Linked DNA regions of Homo sapiens: all the other regions are linked to region 3. The links are contacts of gene promoters, found by promoter capture Hi-C in blood cells and fetal thymus (Javierre and others, 2016). All regions are on one chromosome and are shown on one strand. Each heading gives the region's core, a stretch centred on a gene start or on the middle of the fragment in contact. The rest is flanking DNA. Distances are from core to core; before and after follow the strand shown.

What was found. Contacts are between HindIII fragments. The CHiCAGO score rates a contact against its expected background, and 5 or more counts as called.
Region 1: the fragment with the promoter of OR10W1 here is called in contact with the fragment with the promoter of OR5B2 in region 3 in 16 of 17 cell types (neutrophils, fetal thymus, monocytes and 13 more); the score reaches 15.9 in neutrophils.
Region 2: a contact is called between the fragment with the promoter of OR1S2 here and the fragment with the promoter of OR5B2 in region 3, in 12 of 17 cell types (M2 macrophages, neutrophils, endothelial precursors and 9 more). The highest score is 8.7, in M2 macrophages.
Region 4: a contact is called between the fragment with the promoter of OR10Q1 here and the fragment with the promoter of OR5B2 in region 3, in 15 of 17 cell types (naive CD8 T cells, total CD8 T cells, neutrophils and 12 more). The highest score is 12.0, in naive CD8 T cells.

Annotation. Positions count from the first base shown.
Region 1 is chr11:58,266,538-58,269,818 of GRCh38, reverse strand. OR10W1 (olfactory receptor family 10 subfamily W member 1) reads left to right here and starts at 1,559. Exons shown (of 1, transcript NM_207374.3): 1 at 1,559-3,027. The coding sequence starts at 1,961. The coding sequence ends at 2,878. The HindIII fragment of the contact is 7,272 bases long and covers 1-3,262 here.
Region 2 is chr11:58,202,803-58,206,007 of GRCh38, reverse strand. It overlaps OR1S2 (olfactory receptor family 1 subfamily S member 2), which reads left to right and starts at 1,866. Exons shown (of 1, transcript NM_001004459.2): 1 at 1,866-2,804. The coding sequence starts at 1,866. The coding sequence ends at 2,804. The HindIII fragment of the contact is 6,408 bases long and covers 1,745-3,205 here.
Region 3 is chr11:58,426,059-58,429,400 of GRCh38, reverse strand. It overlaps OR5B2 (olfactory receptor family 5 subfamily B member 2), which reads left to right and starts at 1,280. Exons shown (of 3, transcript NM_001005566.3): 1 at 1,280-1,382; 2 at 2,725-2,779. The HindIII fragment of the contact is 6,968 bases long and covers 1-3,342 here.
Region 4 is chr11:58,227,538-58,230,713 of GRCh38, reverse strand. It overlaps OR10Q1 (olfactory receptor family 10 subfamily Q member 1), which reads left to right and starts at 1,796. Exons shown (of 1, transcript NM_001004471.2): 1 at 1,796-2,832. The coding sequence starts at 1,839. The coding sequence ends at 2,798. The HindIII fragment of the contact is 6,807 bases long and covers 1,076-3,176 here.

The DNA.
Region 1 (3,281 bases), core at 310-2,809, 160 kb after region 3:
GTATAATAATATAGATGGTAGACTAGCCTTTAGATGTGTGCCTGTTGTAGACTTCCATATGCTATGTTCTTGAATGATAGAATTATTTCCACAGTGCAGCCCAAATCTTAGATACGAAGTTGTTTTATATAAGGACTCCTAAACAAGTGATTTGATTATGAATAATCTTAAATCTTTCATTGCACGGCAAAGTGAAAGTAGAAAATGAAGAAAATGTATAAATAACATTTTCAAGCTGTATTATCCATTCGACATATAATTATTGAGTGTCTAAAATTTGCACAACATTAGGCGTGCTTATATGGGATGATCAAAATGTAAATAAAGCAGAATGGCTGCCCTTGAATTTATAAATAATAATGATGATTATCTTTTATTAGGTTGCCATTACTATGGACAGTTCATTGTGATATCTTACATTACTATTGCATTTAAACTTACAGCAATTCTTTTGTCTAAGTATAATTATTATTCCCATTTTTCAAATACAGAAATTGAGGCTTAGAGAAATTATATATTACCTAACATCATGAAGCCAGGAGCTGGAATTATTCAAACCACATCACTTCCCTTCACTGCTGATTTCACATTGATACACTGCCCCTCCTCCACATGATATAGTATAATGTGCAATATGCTAAGTGGCATTAGAAACCACTCAAAGCATTATTGAAGTTCAGCTCAGGAAAAGAGACCAACTGAAATAGATACCACTTGTTAGCTGTTGGAAAAACAGCAGAGAGCCATTTCTGCCCTAGGTGCTCTTAATATTTGTAGCTGCCTACTCATATTTTTCCCCATGCTTGTGACACTGAGGTGGGTTTGTGTGAATAATTTTTACTGGAAGTGGTGCCTCTGGGTAGAGATTTCTCTTCAAATCTCATATTCAATGACAGGAAATATTAAAATTTGGCACGTTGAAACAAGGCCACACATTACGTCTTTTCCACCTTATTTAATATGAGTTGGTCTGGGAAAAGAAGTGGAATGGATGCCCTTTGCAAATTACGTCTGTTTATTAAAAGGTTTTTGTGGAAAAGATATGGCTTCTCCCAGATTTCACATTAGCTTCTGAGAAATATGAAAAATAGATGGGCTTAGACTTTCATAATCATGCCCAAATTCACAGGAAGGCTTCTTAGATTTCCAACATCTTGGGATCACATATTTTCTCATACCTCCACCCACGCCAGGAGGAAACATATGATAAAACACCTTGTTTCCTTCAAGCCTTATACTTCTGGTCAGATAAGGATAGAAAAACCAATAGTAGACAGGGCTTTGCTTTCTGAGGCGTATCCCTGACACTGTCATACTCAGGCCTCTGTTAGCCCTTTGCTTCATGGGTAATTTTTTTTCTTTCTTCACTTCCCATCACTAGTTTTGAGAGTTACATTGACATATCACTTATTCAATACCCCAGGAGATATTGAGTGTAAATATTAGGTTGGTGCAAAAGTAATTGCAGTTTTTGCCATCAAAATGGCAAAACCGCAACTACTTTTGCACCAACCTAATAAATATGTGAATGAATAAGTGAATGAATAAATGGCTTATCTCCCTTACCTTAATGATTTCTAGCCCCAAGAATTCCTTGACACTTTCTTGTGAATTTGCTGAAAGAATTGAATTTTCATTCCACTCTTTCTGAAAATAGCTCCTGAATCCCACCCACTTCCTCTGCCATTTTTCTTCAATAGTATCTTACATAGTTTGGCCCAACTCTTGGCAGGTAGAAATTGAGGTGTAGATATTAATGTGGAGAAACTTGGTAAAAGTGGAGAAAAGAAAAAGAACTAGTCTTGATCCTTCCAGTTTCTAACTCCAGTGCTGATTACATTAGATTCATGGCTCAGAGTGTAACTTAATTTATCTTCAGTCTGATTCTTCCTTCTGTACTTGTAGCTCTCCACAGAGAAATACTGTTAGCTCAATTACCTGGGAAAATCACTCAGTGTTGATGGAATTTGTGTTCCTGGCCTATCCCTCCTGCCCAGAACTGCATATTCTGTCCTTCCTTGGGGTCAGCCTGGTTTATGGTTTGATCATCACTGGGAACATTCTCATTGTGGTGTCCATTCACACAGAAACCTGTCTATGCACATCCATGTACTATTTCCTGGGCAGCCTTTCTGGGATTGAAATATGCTACACTGCAGTGGTGGTGCCCCATATCCTGGCCAACACCCTACAGTCAGAGAAGACCATCACTCTCCTGGGCTGTGCCACCCAGATGGCTTTCTTCATTGCACTGGGCAGTGCTGATTGCTTCCTCTTGGCTGCCATGGCCTATGACCGCTATGTGGCCATTTGCCACCCGTTGCAGTACCCTCTCCTCATGACATTGACTCTTTGTGTCCACTTGGTTGTGGCATCAGTCATCAGTGGTCTGTTCCTGTCCTTACAACTGGTGGCCTTCATCTTCTCTCTGCCATTCTGCCAGGCTCAGGGCATTGAGCACTTCTTTTGTGATGTGCCACCAGTCATGCATGTTGTTTGTGCTCAGAGTCACATTCATGAGCAGTCAGTGCTGGTGGCAGCCATACTAGCCATTGCTGTGCCTTTCTTCCTCATCACCACCTCCTACACCTTCATAGTGGCTGCTCTGCTCAAGATCCACTCGGCTGCTGGCCGCCACCGGGCCTTCTCCACCTGCTCTTCCCACCTCACTGTGGTGCTGCTGCAGTATGGCTGCTGTGCCTTCATGTACCTGTGCCCCAGCTCCAGCTACAACCCCAAGCAAGATCGGTTCATCTCACTGGTGTACACATTGGGAACCCCACTGCTCAACCCACTTATCTATGCCCTGAGGAACAGTGAGATGAAAGGGGCCGTAGGGAGAGTTCTTACCAGGAACTGCCTTTCCCAGAACAGCTAGGAAAGACGAGGGGACAGCCTATCAGGCAAGTATTTGGTTCCAGCCCACCAAATCTGTATGAAACTGAGATTTCTATCATTTGGTGTTAAAACTCATCTAAAAGATGGTATAAATTATATGGATACTGTTTATGTGTGCCAAAGATTTTTAAATATTTCTACAATTTGACTCTGTAATTTCTCTTCTTGGAAAGAACTACATGAGCATAAAGTGATATAAAGTGGCAAGTATAATACTTTGTCCAGTTACCAGCTGAGAAGAGATAGCTCACTCAATAGATTTTTAACTAAAAAAATATTTAAAAAGGGTTATCTGCAGTGGTTATAGGTAAGGAAACCAATAAAATGTGGCAGAGCACTAACACGCTAGCAATAGCAGGAAGCTTTCTCAGCCCTAGACTTAA
Region 2 (3,205 bases), core at 617-3,116, 220 kb after region 3:
TCTTCAATATAGATGCCTGCCAGTTATTTAGCTCATTTCAGTTTTGTTGTGGATTCTCCCTTCTGCATGTGTTTTTCCTCCTCTCTGATTTCTAAGCCAAGCTTTTCAGAAGCAAAGAAACTTCAGATCTCTGCCTCAATCTCCAATGCCTTTCAGTTTTCAGGAATTCCAGACATGATTTCCTCTTTTCTGGATGCTGAATGGAAAGAAAATCTTTGAGAGATAAGTGATGTTGGAGATAGGTAGAAGAGAGGGATAAAATGAGAGGGAGACAATGTTAGGAGAGTAGAAAGAGGGACAAATGTCTCTTTGTTCCCAAGCTGAAATTATTTCCAATAAATCACAAGGAAAATCATACTAGGTCCAGTCTCTCTTCCCTTCTCCTGGATGACACCTTGTGAGAGCCGTTTACCTTTCTGGCCACTTAAGGTTTTAAAAATGTTTAACTTTGATACTGAAGACCCATTTCCAGGTATTAAAAAACCAAGTCCAGCCCAATTTTAAACTTCAGCTTCACTATCAATTCAAAGCATGGGTCCTACCTTGTAAGTTCAGATCTGATGTGTAGCTTGGGTCATACAGTGGAAAGGTGGGAGCATATGTTCTTCCCTTGCTCTTTGGCCTCTCTTCCCGCAAAACCGTTGTTGTTACTATTGTTGTTGTTGTTTTAGTCATTTTGGTCTTTCCTTCTTTTTCAGTTTTATCAGGTCAGGGAGGAAGAATGGGGATGGGAAAAAAGGCAAAAGTGTTCATATCTGTTGCCATAGATACTAGCAGCTTGTGCCTTATATGTGGCAGGCATGGTGTCTCTTGAGATCATTTTGAGGATTGTCAGAGGCTCCCTTTTGGAGACTGCCCCATTATGCGGTTCCCTGACAAGGGCAATGAATTATGTCCCTGATCTCTTTAAGATCTCTCTTTCAAAAGAGACCCACCTCATGGTTTCTTATTGCTACAGCCTCCTCTGCCCCAATAGGCTGTCTCTGGATTGGAATCTCAACAAGGTGACTTGACTCCAATGACCTCCTATAGCATCACGTGTCCTATGGGAAATTCACATATTTATGCCATGTCATGGGTGAAAATGCAGATTGCCCTACTAACCACCATCTTTTCCCTCTACCCTGCCATCACGACCTGATCCAGTGAGCCCCTCACCTTTAGAAATGAGAGGCAAACAGAAGTCTTTAAGTGTATCTGTGCCCCCTAAATTTTCTTGAAGCTAATATCTAGCCACAGATGAAGTAAAACCCTGATTGCTCCTACTTGTACTTATTCTCCAAAAGCACTTGTTTTGGAGTTCTCCCCCGGCGTTAATGGGATGAAGCACCCACACAATGGTGTACACTCCCATAGCCATTCCTAACCCTTAGTTGTGTTTCCTTCTCCAGTCTCTTCACTTTTACGAGACTTGAAATTTCTCCTTTCTTAGATTTAAGGCATAAAGTTGAACAAGGGAGATGATTTGGGGACCAGTTTGGTAACTTTTAAGTAATTCCTGCACATGTACCTAACATCTCTAGAATATAGGGTATGCCTCACCTATGATCCTCAGTTTGGGGGATTTAACCTACATTTAGAACCAACTGGGAAAATCACATTCAGAATTCTGTTAGAGTTTAAAACATGTTCATTGAGAAGAATCTGCCATGTCCTGTCTTTTTCTGTGGCATTTTCCAAATCTCTGCACTGCTGAAATACTTCCTTATTAAGTAGCACTTCCACTTAATAAGCAGAAGAAGCTTTATTGCTCATCAGCTTAAAGGAAGTGCCTTACTGTAATGGCTGCAGCCAAATGACACCATGTTAAATTTTCTTGTAGGTGTATGAAGACTTTGTGTTCCTTTCTTCAGATCAGCAGAAATATGCATCAAGAAAACCAAACCACCATCACTGAATTCATTCTCCTGGGACTCTCCAACCAGGCTGAACATCAAAACCTCCTCTTTGTGCTTTTCCTGAGTATGTATGTGGTCACTGTGGTTGGGAACGGGCTCATCATTGTGGCTATCAGCTTGGATATATACCTTCACACCCCCATGTATCTCTTCCTTGCCTACCTATCCTTTGCTGATATTTCCTCCATTTCCAACTCAGTCCCCAAAATGCTGGTGAATATTCAAACCAACAGCCAATCCATCTCTTATGAGAGCTGCATCACACAGATGTACTTTTCTATTGTGTTTGTCGTCACTGACAATTTGCTTTTGGGGACCATGGCCTTCGACCACTTTGTGGCGATCTGCCACCCTCTGAACTATACAACTTTCATGCGGGCCAGGTTCGGCACTTTGCTCACAGTCATCTCGTGGTTCCTCAGTAATATTATTGCTCTTACACACACCCTTCTGCTCATTCAATTGCTCTTCTGTGACCACAACACTCTCCCACACTTCTTCTGTGACTTGGCCCCTCTGCTCAAACTGTCCTGTTCAGATACAATGATCAATGAGCTTGTGTTGTTTATTGTGGGTTTATCAGTTATCATCTTCCCCTTTGTACTCATCTTCTTCTCCTATGTCTGCATCATCAGAGCTGTCCTGGGAGTATCATCCACACAGGGAAAGTGGAAAGCCTTCTCCACTTGTGGCTCTCACCTGACAATTGCATTACTGTTCTACGGAACCACTGTAGGCGTGTACTTTTTCCCCTCCTCCACTCACCCTGAGGACACTGATAAGATTGGTGCTGTCCTATTCACTGTGGTGACACCCATGATGAACCCCTTCATCTACAGCTTGAGGAATAAGGATATGAAAGGTGCCCTGAGAAAGCTCATCAATAGAAAAATTTCTTCCCTTTGATGCCCTGGACATCTACATTCTTTTAGTCCACATAATCAGATAAATGATTCAGCCCAGAGTGTATGACACAGTTGTGACGGTTCAACTTTTGATGAACTTGCAGATGTCTGTCTCCTATTCCAACCTCTAAGGGGATTGGAGCTTTTCCACTTAGCTCTTGTCTTGGAAACAAAATCTGTAACTGCCATGGTAAGTCACAAGAATAACACGCATCCTTAGAGAGTAGATTGGTGGTTACCAGGGCCCAGTAGCAGAGAAGTGGAGTGGAGTTGAATAGAGGTTGATTAATGGGTACAACAATACAGTTAGATAGAAGAAATAAGACCTATTGTTTGATAAATCATTATGGGGCACTATGGTAAACAGTAATCTATTATATATTTCAAAATAGCTAAAAGAGA
Region 3 (3,342 bases), core at 31-2,530:
ATGTTGAGGTCCTTTTTACAATGTATTTTCCTGTAGTTTGTTGGGCTTATTGTATCTGGATGTGTAAATCTCTTCCCAAACTCGGGAAACTTGTTGTCAATTATTTCCTTAAATAGGGTTTCTGAACTTTTTGCTTTTTCTTCTCCCTTGGAAATACTTATACTTCATATGTTTGGTTGCTTTATGTAGTCCCATACTTCTTAAAGGCTTTGTTTGTTCTTCTTTATTCTCCTTTCTTTATTTTTGTCTGATTGAATTAATTCAAAAGACCTGTCTTCAAATTTTGAGATTCTCTTCTCTGCTCGTTCTAGTCTATTCTTAAGGCTTTCAACTGTTCTTCATAATTCTTTCAGTGAAATTTTCATTTCCAGAAGTTGTTTGTTTCTTTAAGATCTCTACCTTCTTGGTAAATTTCTAGCTCATATCAGGAATTGATTTTCTGATGTCTTTGCATTGGTATTCAGTTTTCTCTTATGTCTTATAGAACTTCTTTAAAATCAGTATTTTGAATTCTTTATCTGACATTTTGAAGATTTCTTATTGGTTCAAATCCATTGCTAGAGAATTACTGTGCTCCTTTGGAGGTGTTATAGCACTTTGTTTTTCATACTTCCAGTATTATTATCCTGATTTCTTTGCATCTGGAGAATTAGTCACTTCTATTATTGAATTTACTTTCATTGGGGTGTGACTTATTTTTCTTGGGAATGTGACTATAATGTATGCTGAGTAGGGTTATTTGGCTTTGTTTCTGGCTGTCTAAACTGGTGTAGACTCTGTATGATTTTCTTGTTTGTAAATATCCTTAGTGTACTGGTTTGGGTGTCCCAGATAATGATTTGGGCTATGGAACACACAGTGGTCCTGGTTCCATGCTTTGTATCCAAGGCAAGAGGGCAAAGCTGGGCAGTGTTGGGTTGTGCAAGTCTGCACTTGAACCCCACGATGGCATGTACAAGTGCTGGCCCTTACAAGGTTCAGAGAGCAATCCTCAGACCTCTGAAGAAACGCTCCAGCAATAAGCAGAGCAACTGCTGCTATGCCAATGACCCCATGAGGGAAAGAGTACATCCTAGGCTCCATGGCCTATCAAGGGGTAGTAAGACCCAGTTTGCTCTCATTAAACCCAGCAGGGCTCTTTCCCACAGCTGGACACTAGCAGTGCGTTGGGACAGTTAGCCAACTCAAATGCACTTTGCCTTTAGAGTGTGAAAATGCCTCAGGCTGCAAAACTTGCTACCGTGGTCAAAACCACTCCTCTCAGACTCAAACCCTCCTGGTCTTGTCCTGCAAGGTGGATTCCCAATTCCATTGTCCACAGCTGAAGCCCATGCTATTCTTGCCTCTCCATTCTGGCCATGTGGATTCCTCCTCCAATCAAGGTAAGATCACAAATCTCTGGCTAACAACTCTACAAACCAGTGACTGACACCAATGCTAGCTGGCAGGTTCCTGTGCAACCCACTATGAGTTAGCATCAGGAATGACCTCCTTCCATTGGTCCTTAAGTCTGAGAGTGCATGTGGGGTACTTCCCAGTGCTCTTCCTTCTCACAGTCCCTTGACTGTTCCCCAAGTCTGATCCAGGTTTTGGGAAACTCAAAAAGTTCCCGATAGCCTAGGTTGCCTGGCTTCCTGGTGGGTATGTGTATTGTGGAGCACTCCCCCTCTCACATATGGAGGGACTGATTCACAGTTTTCCATTTGGGCTGCTGTCTGTCTTGTTTTCAGCAGTATACAAAGTTTTCTTTCACTTTTATATTGAACAATCATGTTTCTACTTGGATGCAAATTCACAGTGTGAATCTCTACACACCACTTGCTATTTCCAAGTGAGCAAGGATTCTGGCAAAGCATCCATTCTGCTATCTCAGAAAAAAAATACTCATCTCTGTTTTATTAATGAGAGAACTGAAGTGCGTAAGTGTTTATACAACCTATAATCTCAATATGAACTTTGTGAAGTTATGCTGCCATCGGCCAACGAAACTTACATAACACTTTAGCCTAGTTTCCATTATGCCACTCATGATTCTGTCTGATTTCTGCCAGGAAAGTTAATGATGAATCTTTTCTGAAGATGTTCACATTACCAAGAAGAAATAACCCTGAGTAAAGTAAATACACTGGTGTTCTTCCTAAGAAAATGGAACCAGGCTTTCATATGCAGTTTAATTATTGCTTCTCTAGATGATTGGAGTGAGAGACTGTGGTTATTCTCATGGGTAACTTGTCCCCTGAGAACTTTATGTACGTTCAAATTCCTCAATTATTGTTAGTTCCCAGTCATTGGTCTCTAACATCCCAACATGACTCTATTTAACATCATGTTAGAGGTTCCACCCTGTGTGTCACCTTTTGGTGATCATTTATTGATCTCAGTGTAAAAGGTTGTCCATTGTACTAAGTGGCCTTATTTCACACTGGTATATTACTCTGAGTCTGCAACAATGGCCAGGGATAAGACCCCCAGCTAAAAATGATGTTCATTGCAGATACGATGATCCCTTCTTACAGCTCTTTAGGACTTTACAGAGTGCATTCAGAGACTTCTATTTTTCCTCACAGCAGCAGCCCTGTGTGACAAGTTGGAGAATATTTTCTAATCTCCACCTAGTCATTACTTTTTCCTTAAATCTCCCTCCCTCTAGAGAACTTCAATATTTGTGACTAGACATTAAATAATAACTTCTTAAATAGGAGCTTTTCTTTCTTCTTTGAGTAGGACTTGCAATTTGAAGATACCAACTGAAAGTGTGTCATCTTCCTTGAAGAGCAAGGTAAGTTTCTAGCTCTGTTCTACGGTCTGTTTAGGTTGTAGTAATAGAATATGTGTTATATAAAAGTTCAAGGGCAAACATTTTCCCATTGAGTAATCAGAGTTCAGTTTCCCAGCTTTTAATATTTTCATGCTATCACGCTATTTAGCCACAGTCCAGGTGTTACAACAATCTCCATTAATTGGGAAAATGGTGATTTTATTCAAATAATAGAAGATGGTATTATTCTCATCATTTAAAATTCATATGCTTAGAGGGCAACAGACATTGGTGCCTATCGAAGGGTGGAGGATAGGAGGAGGGAGAGGATCAGAAAAAAAATAACTAATGGGTCCCAGGCTAATACCTGAGTGATGAAATAATCTGTATAACAAACCCCCATGATGCAAATTTACCTATGTAACAAGCCTGTACATGTATCCCTGAACTTAAAATAAAAGCAAAAAAACAAAAAACAAAACCCTTATACACACAAAAAATCCATGTGCTTAGAAGAACATTTAGAAAATGATGGGCACTCTAAATACTTGTTGAGGCAATGAGAGAATGTATCTAAATGAATA
Region 4 (3,176 bases), core at 547-3,046, 200 kb after region 3:
TATACATAATTATTTTAGTTTTCATATTTTATATTATGCACATCTTTAAAAATTATTCTCAGCAATTCTTTTTTGCTTTTAACAATATTTGCACTATTTAATATTAAATACATATTTTATTATTTGCTTTTCCAAAGCATATTATTTTACATTACAACTTTCCCAACCTTAAAGTATATGTTCTGATTACTCTGATTAATCATGCAGCAACTCATAGTCTTTGTTGAGGGATTTTTAAAATTATATTTAGAATGAAATAATTCCTAAGCCCTTCCAAATCTGAGAAAGTCTTTCTGTTGCTTTTGAACATAAATCACTAAGGCTTTGATACAGAATTCTTTCACTCCAATTTGTTTTTCTTAAAATTCTGTAGATATTTTGTATTGTCTCTTAAATTTTTGTATTAAAAATAAAGTTGTAGTCTAACCTGAAAGTGCTTAATTCACAGGTATTTTTAACTTCCCAGATGCTTGCAAAGGTCTTTCTTATTCTCTTGATTATGTTAATGCATAATTCAATTGTGCTATTGCATTTTTAGTTTCCTCATTGTCTTTTCTTATCTCAGGAAGCTCCACTTTAATTTTAACCTGACTCTGTTCACTTCCCTTTCATTTGAAACTATTTGAGTCCAAAAGTTTAGCTTCCTGTTGGAAATTTAGATAAAATGTTCAAAAGAGAGGAAATATATGAAGAGTACATATCAGAAAAGATTGTAACAATGGGTGTTTTCCTACTTGTATGTGGAGTCAAAATAACTGAATGTAAAGTGAATAACTTATAGCCATAAAGCAATGGAAAGAACAAAGGATTGATTCAGAACAACAAGAATAACCTTTGCAGACATAATGTTGAAGCCAGTTACAATAAAGTACATGCTTTAGCATTTCATATATAAGTTGAAACATAGTTACATCAATCTGTAATGATAAAAGTCAAAAAGTGGTTACTTTTGTGAAGCATAAAGACTGAGAACATGAAGGATGTTTGTAGGTCACTGGAATCGTTCTATTTCTTAATCTTTGTAGTGGTTATACTGGCGTATTTACGATGTTAAAATAAATAAACAAATCAAGCTTCACACTTAGGATTTGTGAATTCCTCCACATGTATGTTATATTTCAATGAGAGTGCTTACTGAAAAAAGTAAAAGACAAATTCATTTATCTAATTTTAAAATATGTGCAACCATACAACTCTTCACTGTAATTAAATACAAGCAAAATAATTAAGTCTTATCAATTGGATTGAAAATATCGGGGTGGGGGGAGATATTTCACAAGGAACATCTACATGTGTCTACATGTCTTGCCCCCAGGAATTTCTGCAGATGACTGTCTATCCCATTCATGAGGATTTCCAAGGAAAAGTATACCAAACCCTATATCGTGAATTCATTCTCATGCACCGTGATTGGAAACTAGCTACTAAATAGTTAATTCCAAATAAAATTGTACACTCCTGCTTTTACTAAAGAAATAAAGCGGCCGGGCGCGGTGGCTCACGCCTGTAATCCCAGCACTTTGGGAGGCCGAGGCGGGCGGATCACGAGGTCAGGAGATCGAGACCATCCCGGCTAAAACGGTGAAACCCGGTCTCTACTTAAAAAAATACAAAAAAATTAGCCGGGCGTAGTGGCAGGCGCCTGTAGTCCCAGCTACTTGGGAGGCTGAGGCAGGAGAATGGCGTGAACCCGGGAGGCGGAGCTTGCAGTGAGCCGAGATCCCGCCACTGCACTCCAGCCTGGGCGACAGAGCGAGACTCCGTCTCAAAAAGAAAAAAAAGAAATAAAGCAACTCAGCCAAGAAGAGCTCAGCGCGTCCTATTCTTTTGCATAAGACATGCCTGTGGGGAAACTTGTCTTCAACCAGTCTGAGCCCACTGAGTTTGTGTTCCGTGCGTTCACCACAGCCACTGAATTCCAGGTTCTTCTCTTCCTTCTCTTCCTCCTCCTCTACTTGATGATCCTCTGTGGCAACACAGCCATCATCTGGGTGGTGTGCACACACAGCACCCTCCGCACCCCGATGTATTTCTTCCTGTCCAACCTGTCTTTCCTGGAACTCTGCTACACCACCGTGGTAGTACCCTTGATGCTTTCCAACATTTTGGGGGCCCAGAAGCCCATTTCGTTGGCTGGATGTGGGGCCCAAATGTTCTTCTTTGTCACCCTCGGCAGCACGGACTGTTTCCTCTTGGCGATCATGGCCTATGACCGCTATGTGGCTATCTGCCACCCGCTGCACTACACCCTCATCATGACCCGCGAGCTGTGCACGCAGATGCTGGGTGGGGCCCTGGGCCTGGCCCTCTTCCCCTCCCTGCAGCTCACCGCCTTAATCTTCACCCTGCCCTTTTGCGGCCACCACCAGGAAATCAACCACTTCCTCTGCGATGTGCCTCCCGTCCTGCGCCTGGCCTGCGCTGACATCCGCGTGCACCAGGCTGTCCTCTATGTCGTGAGCATCCTCGTGCTGACCATCCCCTTCCTGCTCATCTGCGTCTCCTACGTGTTCATCACCTGTGCCATCCTGAGCATCCGTTCTGCCGAGGGCCGCCGCCGGGCCTTCTCCACCTGCTCCTTCCACCTCACCGTGGTCCTGCTGCAGTATGGCTGCTGCAGCCTCGTGTACCTGCGTCCTCGGTCCAGCACCTCAGAGGATGAGGACAGCCAAATCGCGTTGGTCTACACCTTTGTCACCCCCTTACTCAACCCTTTGCTTTACAGCCTTAGGAACAAGGATGTCAAAGGTGCTCTGAGGAGTGCCATTATCCGTAAAGCAGCCTCTGACGCCAACTGAAGGCTTAGGGGCACTGGGCTGGGTGTCTGTCTGTTGCTGTGTCAAAGAACTCTAAATGACACAGAACTGTAGTACTTTCTCACACTGTGCACTTGATGTTTCTTTTTTGCCATATTTGCCCCAAGTTCACAATTCATGCTCATTTTTCTGAAGTGCTTTGACTAAGATATGAAAATTTGGACAGAACTTACAGCGTAGGAATGCTAGTTTACTTAGCTCTACTTTAAGGATTTGCAGCTCACCTATGTCAATTGCCATATTAGGAACACCCCATACATACTGTGAATAAAGGCTGATAGGCATGCTGCCTCCTGGGGAGATGATGTAATTTACCCTGTGAAAGTTGCCTTAAGTAAGGAATATTCATAAAGACATATT